Regions from separate parts of the Homo sapiens genome. Here region 1 is linked to region 2. Evidence: promoter capture Hi-C in human tissues and cell types (Jung and others, 2019). All regions are on one chromosome and are shown on one strand. Each heading gives the region's core, a stretch centred on a gene start or on the middle of the fragment in contact. The rest is flanking DNA. Distances are from core to core; before and after follow the strand shown.

The links. The method cuts DNA at HindIII sites, captures the fragments that hold promoters and counts their contacts. A contact is called where the count stands out against the background at its distance.
Region 1: a contact is called between a fragment that was not itself captured here and the fragment with the promoter of IL17C in region 2, in 2 of the 25 tissues and cell types used here (aorta and mesenchymal stem cells).

What each region holds. Positions count from the first base shown.
Region 1 is chr16:88,847,301-88,853,800 of GRCh38, reverse strand. The region is part of intron 1 of GALNS (galactosamine (N-acetyl)-6-sulfatase); the gene reads left to right. Among named protein-coding and RNA genes, the nearest start is that of GALNS, 6.4 kb to the left of the region's middle. RefSeq lists an enhancer at 3,458-3,627. The HindIII fragment of the contact is 6,360 bases long and covers 1-5,789 here.
Region 2 is chr16:88,635,956-88,642,426 of GRCh38, reverse strand. It overlaps IL17C (interleukin 17C), which reads right to left and starts at 3,855. Exons shown (of 3, transcript NM_013278.4): 1 at 3,780-3,855; 2 at 3,118-3,446; 3 at 1,959-2,613. The coding sequence starts at 3,785. The coding sequence ends at 2,355. It overlaps LOC124903755 (a long non-coding RNA gene), which reads right to left. Exons shown (of 2, transcript XR_007065181.1): 1 at 5,715-6,471; 2 at 4,993-5,627. RefSeq lists an enhancer at 983-1,810. The HindIII fragment of the contact is 16,303 bases long and covers 1-6,471 here.

The DNA of each region.
Region 1 (6,500 bases), core at 1,360-3,859, 210 kb before region 2:
GGCTGCCCTGCCCTGGCCTTTCACTGACCCACGGTCCAGCGCGGCCTGGCTTCGTAGTACCCTGGGCACCTGCTGCGTGAGTGAGGAAACCTGCGTGGCCCACTCTGCTCTCCAGGGCTTCTGGGGCCTTGGAGACAGGTGAGACCCAGTGACAAGTTCCACTCTGGCCCACACACAGCTCCTGCCTCCCAGGGCGAGCAGCACTCTGTGTCTCCACTCCTTATTTGGAAAATAGGGTTAAGGAGGGTCAGCCCTGACCACAGAGGAAGTGGAGAGTCAGGGCCACCCAGGCCAGCTCCTGTTGCCACAGCAGCCTCGTCGAGCCACCAGAGTCCGGGGAGGGTTGCTCAGTGCCCCTCGTTTGAAACAGACAAGCACTGGCCTGCTCGTCTTCATAATAATCCCATAGCAACCAGTAGGAATGGAAACTGCGTTTCTTAAAACTCTGAAATTCTGAAGGATACTGATCCATGGCTCACAGCTGTGCTCGCTGAACGTGGACAATCATTTGGGGGCTTTTAGGCCTTTTTTTTTTTTTTTTTTTTTTTTGAGATGGAGTCTCACTCTGGTCACCCAGGCTGGATTGCAGTGGTGTGATCTCAGCTCACTGCAACCTCCGTCTCCCAGGTTCAAGCAATTCTCCTGCCTCAGCCTCCCGAGTAGCTGGGACTACAGGCTCCCACCACCGTGCCCAGCTAATTTTTGTATTTCTAGTGGAGACGGGGTTTCACCATATTGGCCAGTCTGGCCTGAAACTCCTGACCTCAGGTGATCTGCCTGCCTCAGCCTCCCAAAGTGCTGGGATTACAGGCATGAGCCACCACACCCAGCCAGGACTTTTTTTTTGAGACAAGGTCTGGCTCTGTCACCCAGGCTGGAGTGCAGTAGCTCGATCACAGCTCACTGCAGCCTCAAACTACTGGGCTCAAGCAATTTTCCTGCCTCAGCCTCCTGAGTAGCTGGGATTATAGCCGCCCATCACCACACTCGGCTAATTAATTTGATCTTCAATCACTGATACCCTTTCTTCCACTAGATCGAATCGGCTACTGAAGCTTGTGCATGCGTCACGTAGTTCTGGTGCCATGGTTTTCAGCTCCATCAGGTCATCTAAGGTCTTCTCTACACTGTTGATTCTAGTTAGCCATTCGTCTCATCTTTTTTCAAGGTTTTTAGCTTCCTTACCATGGATTCAAACATCTTCCTCTAGTTCGGAGAAGTTGGTTATTACCGACTTTCTGAAGCCTACTTCTGTCAGCTCGTCAGAGTCATTCTCTGTCCAGCTTTGTTCCCTTGCTGGCGAGGAGCTGCGATCCTTTGGAGGAGAAGAGGTGCTCTGGTTTTTAGAATTTTCAGCTTTTCTGCTCTGGTTTCTCCCCATCTTTGTGGTTTTATCTGCCTTTGGTCTTTGATGCTGGTGGCCTAAAGATGGGGTTTTGGCGTAGATGTCCTTTTTGTTGATGTTGATGCTATTCCTTTCTGTTTGTTAATTTTCCTTATAAGAGTCAGGTCCCTCAGCTGCAGGTCTGTTGGAGTTTGCTGAAGGTCCACTCCAGACCCTGTTTGCCTGGGTATCACCAGTGGAGGCTGCAGAACAGCAACTATTGCAGAATAGTAAATATTGCTGCCTGATCCTTCTTCTGGAAGCTTTGTCCCAGAGGGGCACCTGCCTGTATGAGGTGTCAGTGGGCCCCTACTGGGAAGTATCTCCCAGTTAGGCTACACGGGGGTCAGGGACCCACTTGAGGAGGCAATGTGTCCGTTCTCAGAGCTCAAACACTGTGCCGGGAGAACCACTGCTCTCTTCAGAGCTGTCAGACGGGGACGTTTAAGTCTGCCGAAGTTTCTGCTGCCTTTTGTTCAGCTATTCCCTGCTCCTAGAGGTGGGGTCTACAGAGGCAGCAGGCTTTGCAGAGCTGCGGTGGGCTCTGCCCGGTTCGAGCTTCCCTGCCGCTTTGTTTACCTACTCAAGCCTCAGCAATGGCGGACGCCCCTCCCCAGGCAGGCTGCCACCTCGCAGGTGGATCTCAGACTGCTGTGCTAGCAGTGAGCAAGGCTCCGTGGGCATGAGACCCTCCGAGCCAGGCCCGGGATATAATCTCCTGGTGTGTCGTTAGCTAAGACCGTTGGAAAAGCGCACTATTTGGGCGGGAGTGTCCTGATTTTCCAGGTGCAGTCTGTCACGGCTTCCCTTGGCTAGGAAAGGGAAATCCCCCAACCCCTCGCACTTCCTGAGTGAGGCGATGCCCCACCCTGCTTCGGCTCACCCTCCATGGGCTGCACTCACTGTCCAACCAGTCCCAGTAGGATGAACCAGGCACCTCAGTTGGAAATGCAGAAATCGCCGTCTTCTGCGTCAATCACGCTGGGAGCTGCAGCCCGGAGCTGTTCCTATTCAGCCATGTTGGAACGGAATCCCCACACCCGGCTAATTAAAAAAAAAGTTTTTTTTAGTGACAGTGTCTGTCTGTGAGACCCAGGTTGGTCTTGACTTCCTGAGCTCAAGCGATCCTCCCTCCTCAGCCTCCCAAAGTGTTGGGATAACAGACGTGAACCACTGGATCCAGCCCTTTTAGGACTTTTAAGGGAGAGAAGAAAGGTGGTTCCTGCCCGTGGTGCCCTGTGGGGGTTTTAGATGTTCAATGGTAACCTGCTCACTCTGCAGGGAGGCTGTCCACACCTGCTTTTCATAGCCAAGAAAGGCGCCGATAAATAATGAAAGAACAGGGTCAGCAGATGAGAGCTGGCCCAGCAGCCTGGGACGCTGTCCTCAGAAGGCCCACGTGTGGGACGTTGCCCTCGGCTGGTCAGAAGGCACATGTGTGGGAGGTTTTTGCCCTCGGCTGGCGTCTGGGAACAGGAGGTCCCCCCGCTGTTCGCTGATAGGAGCAGCTCACCTTGCCACACTGTTTTTGCACATGCCACGATTTATGCCCAGCATCCTCCTTCTGGGCATAAAGAGTCTCGGCACATGCCAGGCAGAGGCGGCCGCACTGCCAGCCTAGGCAAAAGCCCTGGGAACTGAGTCTCGCACAGCTTCCCCGTCAGCATCCCGCACCTGTGCTCGCAGCCCGAGCGTCCCGTGTGGCTCCGCCTGGGGAGGGTTCCACGCTGCGGCTGGTCTCCCCGGCCCCGCCCGCACCTTCTCCCCTGGCTGATGCCCTCCCCGTTGTAAGTCATGGCAGTGAGTAGGACTGTCGCCAAGACCTGGGACTCCTCCCAGCGAGAGTGCTCCCTTGCGGTATCTTCTGAGTCAGTGGTGAGCGTGGAGCCCCCTCCCTCAAGCCCTGGGACTCCTCCCCGCAGTATTTTCTGGTGAGTGATGAGCGTGGAGCCCACTCCCTTTACAGCATTTTCCGCTGCATCCATTCATGTTATTTGTGGCCTGGAACAGGTAGGAGGATGACCCAGGTGAGCACAAGCAGATCCGGACGCAGCTCTGCTGACTGCCGACCTTCTGGGGAGGCCAGACCCGCCTCGGGAAGCCTCAGGACGCAGCCTGCAGGGAGGGTCGGGCACATGGCACCCAGTATTCAGATGTGCGGCCTCACTCCCAGCCCGAAGGGAGCCCAGCAGTGGTCCTGGGCATGGGCAGACAGTGTAACGGGCGAAACATACTGCTCCCTCCCATCCCAGGCCTTGTGCCCCCGGCCCACCTGCCATTCTGTACTCTCCCACCTGGACTGGAGACAGCAGGAAGTGCAGAAGCCACCTGAGAGGATGAATCTGCACTCGGGGAGGTGGAGGGCAAGGAGCTTTGGGCGTGTGTGGCCAGTCCCCCTCAGGCTGGCCTCAGGGAGCTGTACCGTCCCAGCCTGCACTGCAGGTTTCTGCTGCCTCAGTGGGATGCACCTCACCCTGACATGGGCGCATTCGCCCACTGTGACTAGGTGCCACTGAGCCCAAGGTCCCTTCTCAGCCCATGAGCAGCTCTGCGGGCGTCCTGCCCCCTGTCCTCCCACCTCCCTTTCTTCCTCATCAGCTTCAGGGGACACCTCTCTCTAGGTCCTCCTTTCATTCCAGCCTCCATTGTCCTCAGAAAAGCCATTTCAGTGACTTCAAAATAAACCATCTCAGGGCTGGGCGTGGTGGCTCACACCTGGGATCTCAGCACTTTGGGAGGTGGAGGCGGGTGGACTGCTTGAGCTCAGTTCACTCAAGACCAGCCTGGGCAACGTGGCAAAACTCCATCTCTACCAAAAATACAAAAAAGTTGGCCTGACACGGTGGTTCACACCTGTAATCCCAGCACTTTGGGAGGCTGAGGCAGGTGGATCACCTGAGGTCAGTATTCAAGACCAGCCTGGCCAACATGGTGAAACCCCATCTCTATAAAAAAAATACAAAAATTAGATGAGCTTGGTGGTGGGTGCCTATAATTCCAGCTACTCAGGAGGCTGAGGCAGGCGAATTGCTTGAACCCAAGAGCCGGAGGTTGCAGTGAGCCAAGACCACGCCACTGCACTCCAACCTGGGTGACAGAGTGAGACTCCATCTCAAAAAATAATGATAATAATAATTAACTGGGCATGGTGGCATGTGCCTGTAGTCCCAGCTACTCAGGAGGCTGAGGTGGGAGGATCACCTGAGCCCGGAAGGCAGAGGTTGCAGTGAGCCAAGATCGCGCCACTGTACTTCAGCCTGTTTGTCAGAGTGAGACCCTGTCTCAAAAAAATAAACCATCTCAAAAGGGATCCAAAGCTAAAAGGGCCAAACAGAATTGTGTCCCATGAGACATGGAGGGCCTTTGAGAGGAAAAAGCCCAGACCTGGCCCAGCTCTGGGACTCCACACGTTAGGAGGGGCTGAGGCAAGGAGCGGCCACCCTGCCAAGCTGAGCCTTACAGGCAGGGGCCATGTAGCCTGCCGTCCACCGGGGAAATGGATCATTGCATCCAGACAAAGACCAAGGTGTGACCACGCAGACCTGGATGTCCAGCCACCCACGTGCGCCCAGAGCGGCCCACTGTCCTCCCGCGGTCCCCGGGGCCCAGCGCCCATCCCTCCAGCAGCCGTTCCCAGTCAGCACGCTGCCACCCCCGCCCCCGGTGAGGGCTTCCCCTCTGTTCAGACCCCTGTCACTTCACACAGGCCCCGAGGCTGCTGCTTCTTTGACTTACCAGGACCCAGCGAGTCAAACGCCCACCGGCCCCGACCCAGCAGTGTCAGGGGAGCCCCTGGTCCATCTGCAGAAAACCAGGATGCCCGCACTTCCTTTTTTTTTTTTTTTCAGACGGAGTCTCACTGTCACCCAGGCTGTCCTGCCTCAGCCTCCCGAGTAGCTGGGACCACAGGCGCCTGCAACCACGCCTGGCTAATTTTTTGTATTTTTGGTAGAGACGGGGTTTCACTGTGTTAGCAAGGATGGTCTCGATCTCCTGACCACCTCGTGATCCACCTGCCTCGGCCTCCCAAAGTGCTGGGATTACAGGCGTGAACCACCGCGCCCGGCCTTTCATTCTTTTATAGCCGCTTTACTGAGACGGAATTCGCTGGTGAAAGTGTGCGGGTCATTTTTAGTGTGTTCTCAGAGTCGTCCTGCCACCACACATCGTCACATCATCTTTGTCACCACGGAAGGAAGCCCCAGCCCTGATGGGGGTCACTCCCTTGTGCTCCCCGAAGCCCCTGGCCGACCCGCTCCCCTTTCTGTCTCTAAGGATCTGCCTTTTCTGACGTGTCCGGTGAATGGAATCTTACGGCTCATGGGCCTTGTGTCTATTTTCCCCTCACACAGGGTTTTTGGGCTTCACACACACAGCCTGTGTGAGGACTCCATTCCTTTTCGTGGCTGAGTCATGGTCCACAGTGTGGAGGGACCACGTGTGGCTGAGGCTTCCACCCATGGATGGGCATCCGGGTGTTTCCAGCTTGGCTGCCAGGGAGCGAGCCGCTGTGGGTGTTGGTTCATGCACAGGTTTCCACGTGGACACACTTTTCAGTTCTGTTGGGCGTGTACCAGGGAGGCGCTGCCGGGCGGCGTGGCCACCCTGCGTGGCGCTGCCGGACCTCTCACCAGGTGCTGCGTGTCACGTTCTTACATGGTGTGTGAGGGCTCCAGTTTCCAGTGAGTTCACTTTTAATGTTTTGTTTTGTTTGGTAAAAATCAACCTTAGACAATCAGCGATCAGACTCTAGTCCCTGTCGTGGTGAACTGTGGAGAGACCAAAGTGAGCCTCTCTCCGGCTCTTGGAGCACCAGGGCCCATGCAGCCTGTCTTGGGGTCATTTGAAATGGTGGAAACTTTACAAGGGCCCGATGGGCAGGTGAGCCCCACTCGGCCTCCAGGCACAGCCCTCCTCAAGGTCCCTGCTGTCCATGCAGGTGGCAGTCCTACTCTGTGGGTGAGTCCTGGAGCCACTTGTGACAGGAGGAGGCTGGATGGGGTGAATTTGGAGAAAAGTGGCAGGTTTTTGTTTTTTATTTTTTTGAGACAGGGTTCTCTGTCTGTTACCTAGGCTGGACTGCCGTGGCGCGATCTCAGCTCACTGCAGCCTCTGC
Region 2 (6,471 bases), core at 2,606-5,105:
CCACACCCCACATCCAATCCTGGCCCAAATCCAGACCCCAGCTACATGGGCCATCCCCACCCAGGCCACCTGCCGCCTCCCGCTCTGCCCTCATCCCCTGAAACCATCCTGATGCTGCCATTGAAACCCAAAGCCTCACCCCAGTGCCTCCGGCTCAGAATCCGCAGGCTCAGAACCCACAGGCTCAGCTACCTCCAGTGACAGCCACAAGCTTCTGATGGCCCCAGGGCAGACATGATCTGCACCCCCAGCGCCCTGCCCTGCCCCTGCGGTCCCCCTCTCACCTGGCATCAGCCACGCAGGCCACTCTCTGACCCTTGGACACACGCAGCATGTGTCTTCTCAGGGCCTTTGCATGGGCTCTTCCTGCTGCCTGGAGCTGTTCCCTGCATGGCTGCCTGGCTCCTTCCTCCTCCCCTTCAGGTCTTCGAGGCCTCCCTGACCCTCTGCTTAGAACTGCAGCCCCTTGGCCGGGCGCGGTGGCTCACGCCTGTAATCCCAGCACTTTGGGAGGCCGAGGCGGGCAGATCATGAGGTCAGGAGATCGAGACCATCCTGGCTAACACGGTGAAACCCCGTCTCTACTAAAAATACAAAAAATTAGCCGGGCGTGGTGGCGGGCGCCTGTAGTCCCAGCTACTCAGGAGGCTGAGGCAGGAGAATGGTGTGAACCCGGGAGGCGGAGCTTGCAGTGAGCCGAGATCGCACCATTGCACTCCAGCCTGGGCCAGAGCGAGACTCCTCAAAAAAAAAAAAAAGAACTGCAGCCCCTCCCCCAGAGCCTCTGTCCTGGACTCACTCACAGACTACACACCACTTGTTTCATTAGTCACCGTGGAGGCAGGAAGGGTTTTCACCATTTTGTTCTCGGCCTGTTCCCAGTGCCAGGTGCTTAGTAGAAACTCATATGGCTGGGTGCGGTGGCTCACGCCTGTAATCCCAGCACTCTGGGAGGCCGAGGTGGGAGGATCACTTGAGCTCAGGAGTTCGAGACCAACCTGGCCAACATGGCGAAACCCCGCCTCCACTAAAAATACAAATATGAGTTGGGTGTGGTGGTGCACGCCTGTACTGGGAAGCTGAGCTGGGAGGATCGCTTGAACTCAGAAGGTGGGGGTGGCAGTGAGCTGAAGTCATACCACACTGCACTCCAGCCTGGGCAACAGAGCGAGACCCTTTTTCAAGAAAGAAAAGAAACTCAATAAATGTGTTGAATGAAAATTCCATCTCCTGGACAAGGGCCACCACCTCCAGGAAGTCTTCCCTGAGGCCTCTTGCTTTGGGAGTCTGAGTGGAGTCCTTGTTCTTCTGTGCAGCACCCCCACCCCCATCTCCAGGCACCTGGACGCAGTAGGTGGGTGAGCCAGGGGGCCAGGCAGGGGAGGGGCTAACAACTGCCCAGCAGCCCCATGGCAATGTCAGCCCTTGGGGCCGGGGGCCTAGAGACTGAGACCCTGAGACTGTCACAGGCCTGGGCCCCCTTTCCACGACTGGGGCTGCTCCCCCCGGGGCCCCTTAACTAAAATCTCCAACAGAGCCTGGGTCCCGAAGCGTGGCTAGTTCACCATCAGGGAGGGCGCTTGGCCTTGGATGTTGATCCGAACCACGAAGGCTGGGGGCCCTGCCTTGAGCCGACAGCCCTGCAGTTCATCCTCAGAGACTTGCCTTGGGGGCCGAGAGGGTGCCCCTAGGCGCTCACATCATTACAAAGCATAGGGCTCAAGGCACTGCTTGAGGAAGGAGGCTGGTTCCTGTTCCCAGGGGTGTCCTCAGGGGAGACACTGTGTGGGCAGAGCAGGGACACCTGTGACCCCCCCGTGCTACAGCTCAGTCCCACCTGCATGCACTGCTCGCGGCTGCGTAGACCTTTCTGGAAGGACACCCCAGAATTGGGTCCATGGCTGGCCTGGACCAGGGCTGAACGGGAGAATGTCGCATTGAATGTTGGCCTCTGGGGATGTGTTCATCAGTTTAATAATACACGTACACTTAAATAATTGTTTAAGAAACAGGGGTACTTCCAAGGAGGTTGGGAAGAGGCAGCCTGCGGGGGCCTGAGGCCAGTGATAGGGTAAGGGAAGCCGGGAGCAGGACAGGGAGCCAAGGTACAGGCAGCCGTGTGACACCTTTTCTGCAGCTTTAAGGGCTGGAAGAGGTGCTGAGCTCCTTCTACCCCCAACTACTGAGGCTGGAGATGAGGAGAACAGTGGGGGGCTGTCCTCCAGACACGGGGAATGCCCAGACCCCAAGGGTAGTGTTGGGGGAGGCATATAAATAACAATAAATACACATAAATAGGGGGTGCCCTCTGGGGAGCACACGTGTCCAGTCTAGGGGCCCCACGGCCTCGGCGGTCACACTGAACGGGGCAGCACGCAGGTGCAGCCGACGGGGACGTGGATGAACTCGGTGTGGAAGGCAAAGGCCCCAGGTGTGGGGAGCCCCGAGCCGTCGCGGGAGCAGGGCCGGCGGCGCAGCACCAGCAGGCTCTGGAGCAGCCGCACGGAGTTGAGCGCAGCTGTCTCGCGGCCCGTCCGTGCATCGATACAGCCTCTGCACAGGCACTCGGCGAAGGCCAGCTTCTGTGGATAGCGGTCCTCATCCGTGTCCACACTGCGGGACGGGGTGCACAGTGAGTCTCTGGCCCTACCCTGTCCTCCTGGAGGCCCCTCTCCCCTCAGGGCCCCTCTCCGTGTACTCAGGATAGGACCTGAGGCAGCGAGGGCTGAGCCACACGGGCTTGGGGTGCAGTCGGGCTCACATGTGGTGGTAATCCACGTCTCCCCAGGGCCCTCCAAGAGCACAGAGCAGGGTCCGGAGGCCTCTAGGAGCCTCCCTTCCACTTCATCACCCAGCCCCACTTCTGCAGGAGCTCAGGTGACGGGCCCAGAATTTCCCCAGGGGACCCTGGCCACCTAGGACAGTGGGAGGCAGGGCACGGCCAGCCGCAAGCAGCAGCTCAGCCGTCCAGGTCAGGAGGGCCGGAGGGAGGGAGCTCAGGTGGCCACGCCCACTTGACAGGTGAGAACCACCAAGGCCCAGAGAGCTCTCCGGGCAGTCAGGGCCCCGCCAGGGGAGGGGCAGCCCCACGCCACAGCGGAATCCCCAGGTCCTCACCGGTATCTCCAGGGTGAGATGGAGCGCTGGTGGGTGTCTGCCTCCAACACCTCCTCCGGCCGCAGCACCGGGCACTGGGTCGTAGCTGAGGGCCTCTCGTGCCTCCCCCTGTGGCTTGCTGCCTCCAGGCTGGACACCAGGGCTACAGGCAAAGCCTGCCCCCACTTGGCACCTCGAGCCAGCAGGTGTGGGGGGGCCTGGCCGAGGGGCAGTTCCTCAGCCGAGTAGCAGTGTGGGGTACCGTGACTGTGGGGGTGCCCCCTGAGGGAGGGGTCATGGTGGGCCAGGCATGTGTGCAGCCAGGTCAGAAACAGGAGGCCGGGGAGGAGCTGGTGAAACAGGCAGGTGGGTGGTTAGGAGGTGCCCAGGGCAGGGGGCACCTCACTTCCACCTCAGCTTTCCTTGTTCCCAGCGGAAAGATGGAGTACAGCCCTCCCTCTATAGATGGGGAAACTGAAGCCCAGAGAGGCTAGCCCTTCAGCCCAAGACACCCAGCATGCCAGCGCTCCGAGGATCTGCAGCTGCCTCCCCTACCCCCAGACTGAGGGGTTTCCCAGACCCCATCCCAACACCCTCCTCCCAGGCTCAGAGAACCCCAGCCCTTCCATGCCAGGCTGCACATCCAAGCAGCATCCATCCGAGCGGCATGTGGAGAGGCTCACCGTCATGGTGGCGGCAGCGGGGCAGGCTGGGCTTGGAGCGGCCTGCACACCTGGCGGCAATCCCACAGGTGCACCTGGCCATGCACCTGGCAGCAGCCGCTCTTATACCTGAGGCCACACCTGGGGGAAATTCCGGCACCACTTCCTCCTCGGGAAGTGCCCAGCTGGGGCGCTTCTTCCTTCTCTGGTCCCCGCAGCCCCCGCCTGCTGTGCATCAGGACACAGACATGCAAGGAGGCCCCGGGAGGCGCTGTCCTGTTACCCCCCTCCCCCGAGAGAGACTCCGCCCAACCTGAGCACCTACACAGGGTGCTGCCTTGTCTGACATTCTCAAACTTTTTTTTTTTTTTTGAGACAGGGTCTTGCTGTCACCCGAGCTGGAGGGAAATGGTGCTGTCCCAGCTCACTGCAACCTCCACATCCCAGGTTCAAGCGATTCTCCTGCCTCAGGCTTCCGAGTAGCTGGGATTACAGGCACCCCCCACCATGCCTGGCTAATTTTTGTATTTTTAGTACAGACAGGGTTTTGCCATATCGGCCAGGCTGGTCTGAGGCTCCTGACCTCAAGTGATCTGCTCGCCTTGGCCTCCCAAAGTGCTGGGATTACAGGAGTGAGCCACTGCGCCCAGCCTTGAACCTCCTATAAGAGGGTTTCTGCTTGCGTATCCGTCAGCACCTTGCTGATTCAACTTGTAGGTTTTCATCTGGACCTGATGGTGGCGGGGCGCTTTTGCACCCTATACAGTTCTTCTCCGTCTGCTGCTGGTGGGTGCCAAGGGTGGTTCAGTGTTTTAGCTGAGATGGTCAAGATCAGGTGAGGCTCACGTGCCCCCTTCACCCAGGTGGGAGAGGTCCCGGAGATGGGGGAGGCAGGCACGTCTTCAGGTCTCTGTTGGGTTTCTGTGTTGTTTTTTTTTTTGTTGTTTTTTTGAGGCGGAGTCTGACTCTGTCGCCCAGGCGGGGAGTACAGTGGTGCGATCTCGGCTCACTACAAGCTCAGCTTCCTGGGTTCACGCCATTCTCCTGCCTCAGCCTGCCGGGTAGCTGGGACTACAGGCGCCCGCCACCACACCTGGCTAATTTTTTTGTATTTTTAGTAGAGACGGGGTTTCACCATGTTAGCCAGGATGGTCTCGATCTCCTGACCTCGTGATCTGCCCACCTCGGCCTCGCAAAGTGCTGGGATCACAGGCATGAGTCACTGCACCCGGCCTGGGCTTCTGTGGTTTTATTGAGAAAAAAGTTCAAGCTAAAAAGTCTGAGTTGGAGGTGTGAGGAGTGAGGTGTGAGGTGTGAATGAGGCATGAGGCGTGAGGCGTGAGGTGTGAGGTGTGACCAGCACACACAGGAAGCTTTATGTAAGCGGGGCCGGGAGCTGCCTTTGGCCTCCTTGATCGGTGAGGCTGGCTGGGGGTGGGGGCGCTGGAGGTGCCTTTGTTTCCCCGGAAAGGGACAGCTGCAGCCAGAACTTGGGAAGGTTTGAATGCCGGGGGTTTGACGTCATCCTGAGGAGGGTTGTCCTGGAGTCCCCAGGGCCCCTGGCCACATCAGAGGTGGGGGAATCTGTCCGCCCTGGTCCCCTCAGCTTCGGGGTGAGGGCGGGAGGGAGGGTGCTTGTGTGCCCCCAGCCTTTCCTCCCCTGCCGCGGTGCAGATGTGTTCCACGGAGGTGTCCTCTAAGCTGAAAACCTCAGTCTCTCTGAACACAAAAGCTCCCAAGTCGGGTGGGGCTGAGGCAGCACTGGGACCCCTGGGCCCTCCAGCACCTCCTCTTGGCCGCTGTGTGGCTCTCAGCTTGTCTGCTGTGGGCCTCTGGGGGTGAAGGAGGCTGTGCCCCAGGGTTAACAGTCTGGGAGGAATCAAAGACAGATTGCTGGAGTCCCCAGGGCTGCTCCTCCCGACAGTGCCCCTGCCCACCCACCCTCTGCTTGCATACCTCCTGTGACGGGGAGCTCACTATCCGTGCTGGTTTCCTAGGGCTGTGCTAACCATGCACCACAAACTGGGGGGTGTGAAATGGGAGAAGTTTATTCCACGAGGCCGTGGAGCTGGGCGTGTTCAGGGCTGGGTCCTCCTGGAGGCTCTTCCAGCCCTCAGTTTCCCGGGCTGGCGGCTCCTCCCGTGGCCTCTCTGCTGCACCCGCCTTTTCCTCTTCTGTGGTTTATAAGGACACTGGTTGTTGGATGTAGGGCCCAGTCTAAAAGATAATCCCTCCCCCCTTCTCAGGACGTGGGACCTGCCTTAACCCAGGATGAGCCATCTCAAGATCCTTTCCCTAATTACATCAAAGCAAAAGCCCCTTTTCCAAATGAGCGCGCGTTCACAGGTTGGGTTAGGGTGTGGGTAGAGCCTTTTCCAGGACACAGCAGAACCCACTGCATCCCCAGCAGGACAGGTGCTCCTGTGTGGGTTGGCCCTGCCTTAGGCTGGGCTGATACAGGCCTCTCTGCACGGGCGCTTGGCTGTCTCAGAAAAATTCCAGCCCCTCACGGCCCTCCCCAAAAGGCGGCCTGAGCGCCTTGAGGGCCACGTCTGTGGCAGCCCCATCTGTGTACCCAGGGTTGAGAGTAGTGCAGGGCATACAGGAGGGTGCTCTGTAAATAACACAGAATGGAAAAAGGAGGGAGGAGAGCGGCTCTCCCCATGGGTACAGTGGGATGATAGCAGCTCCAGTGCCAGGGCTGCCCTGAGGC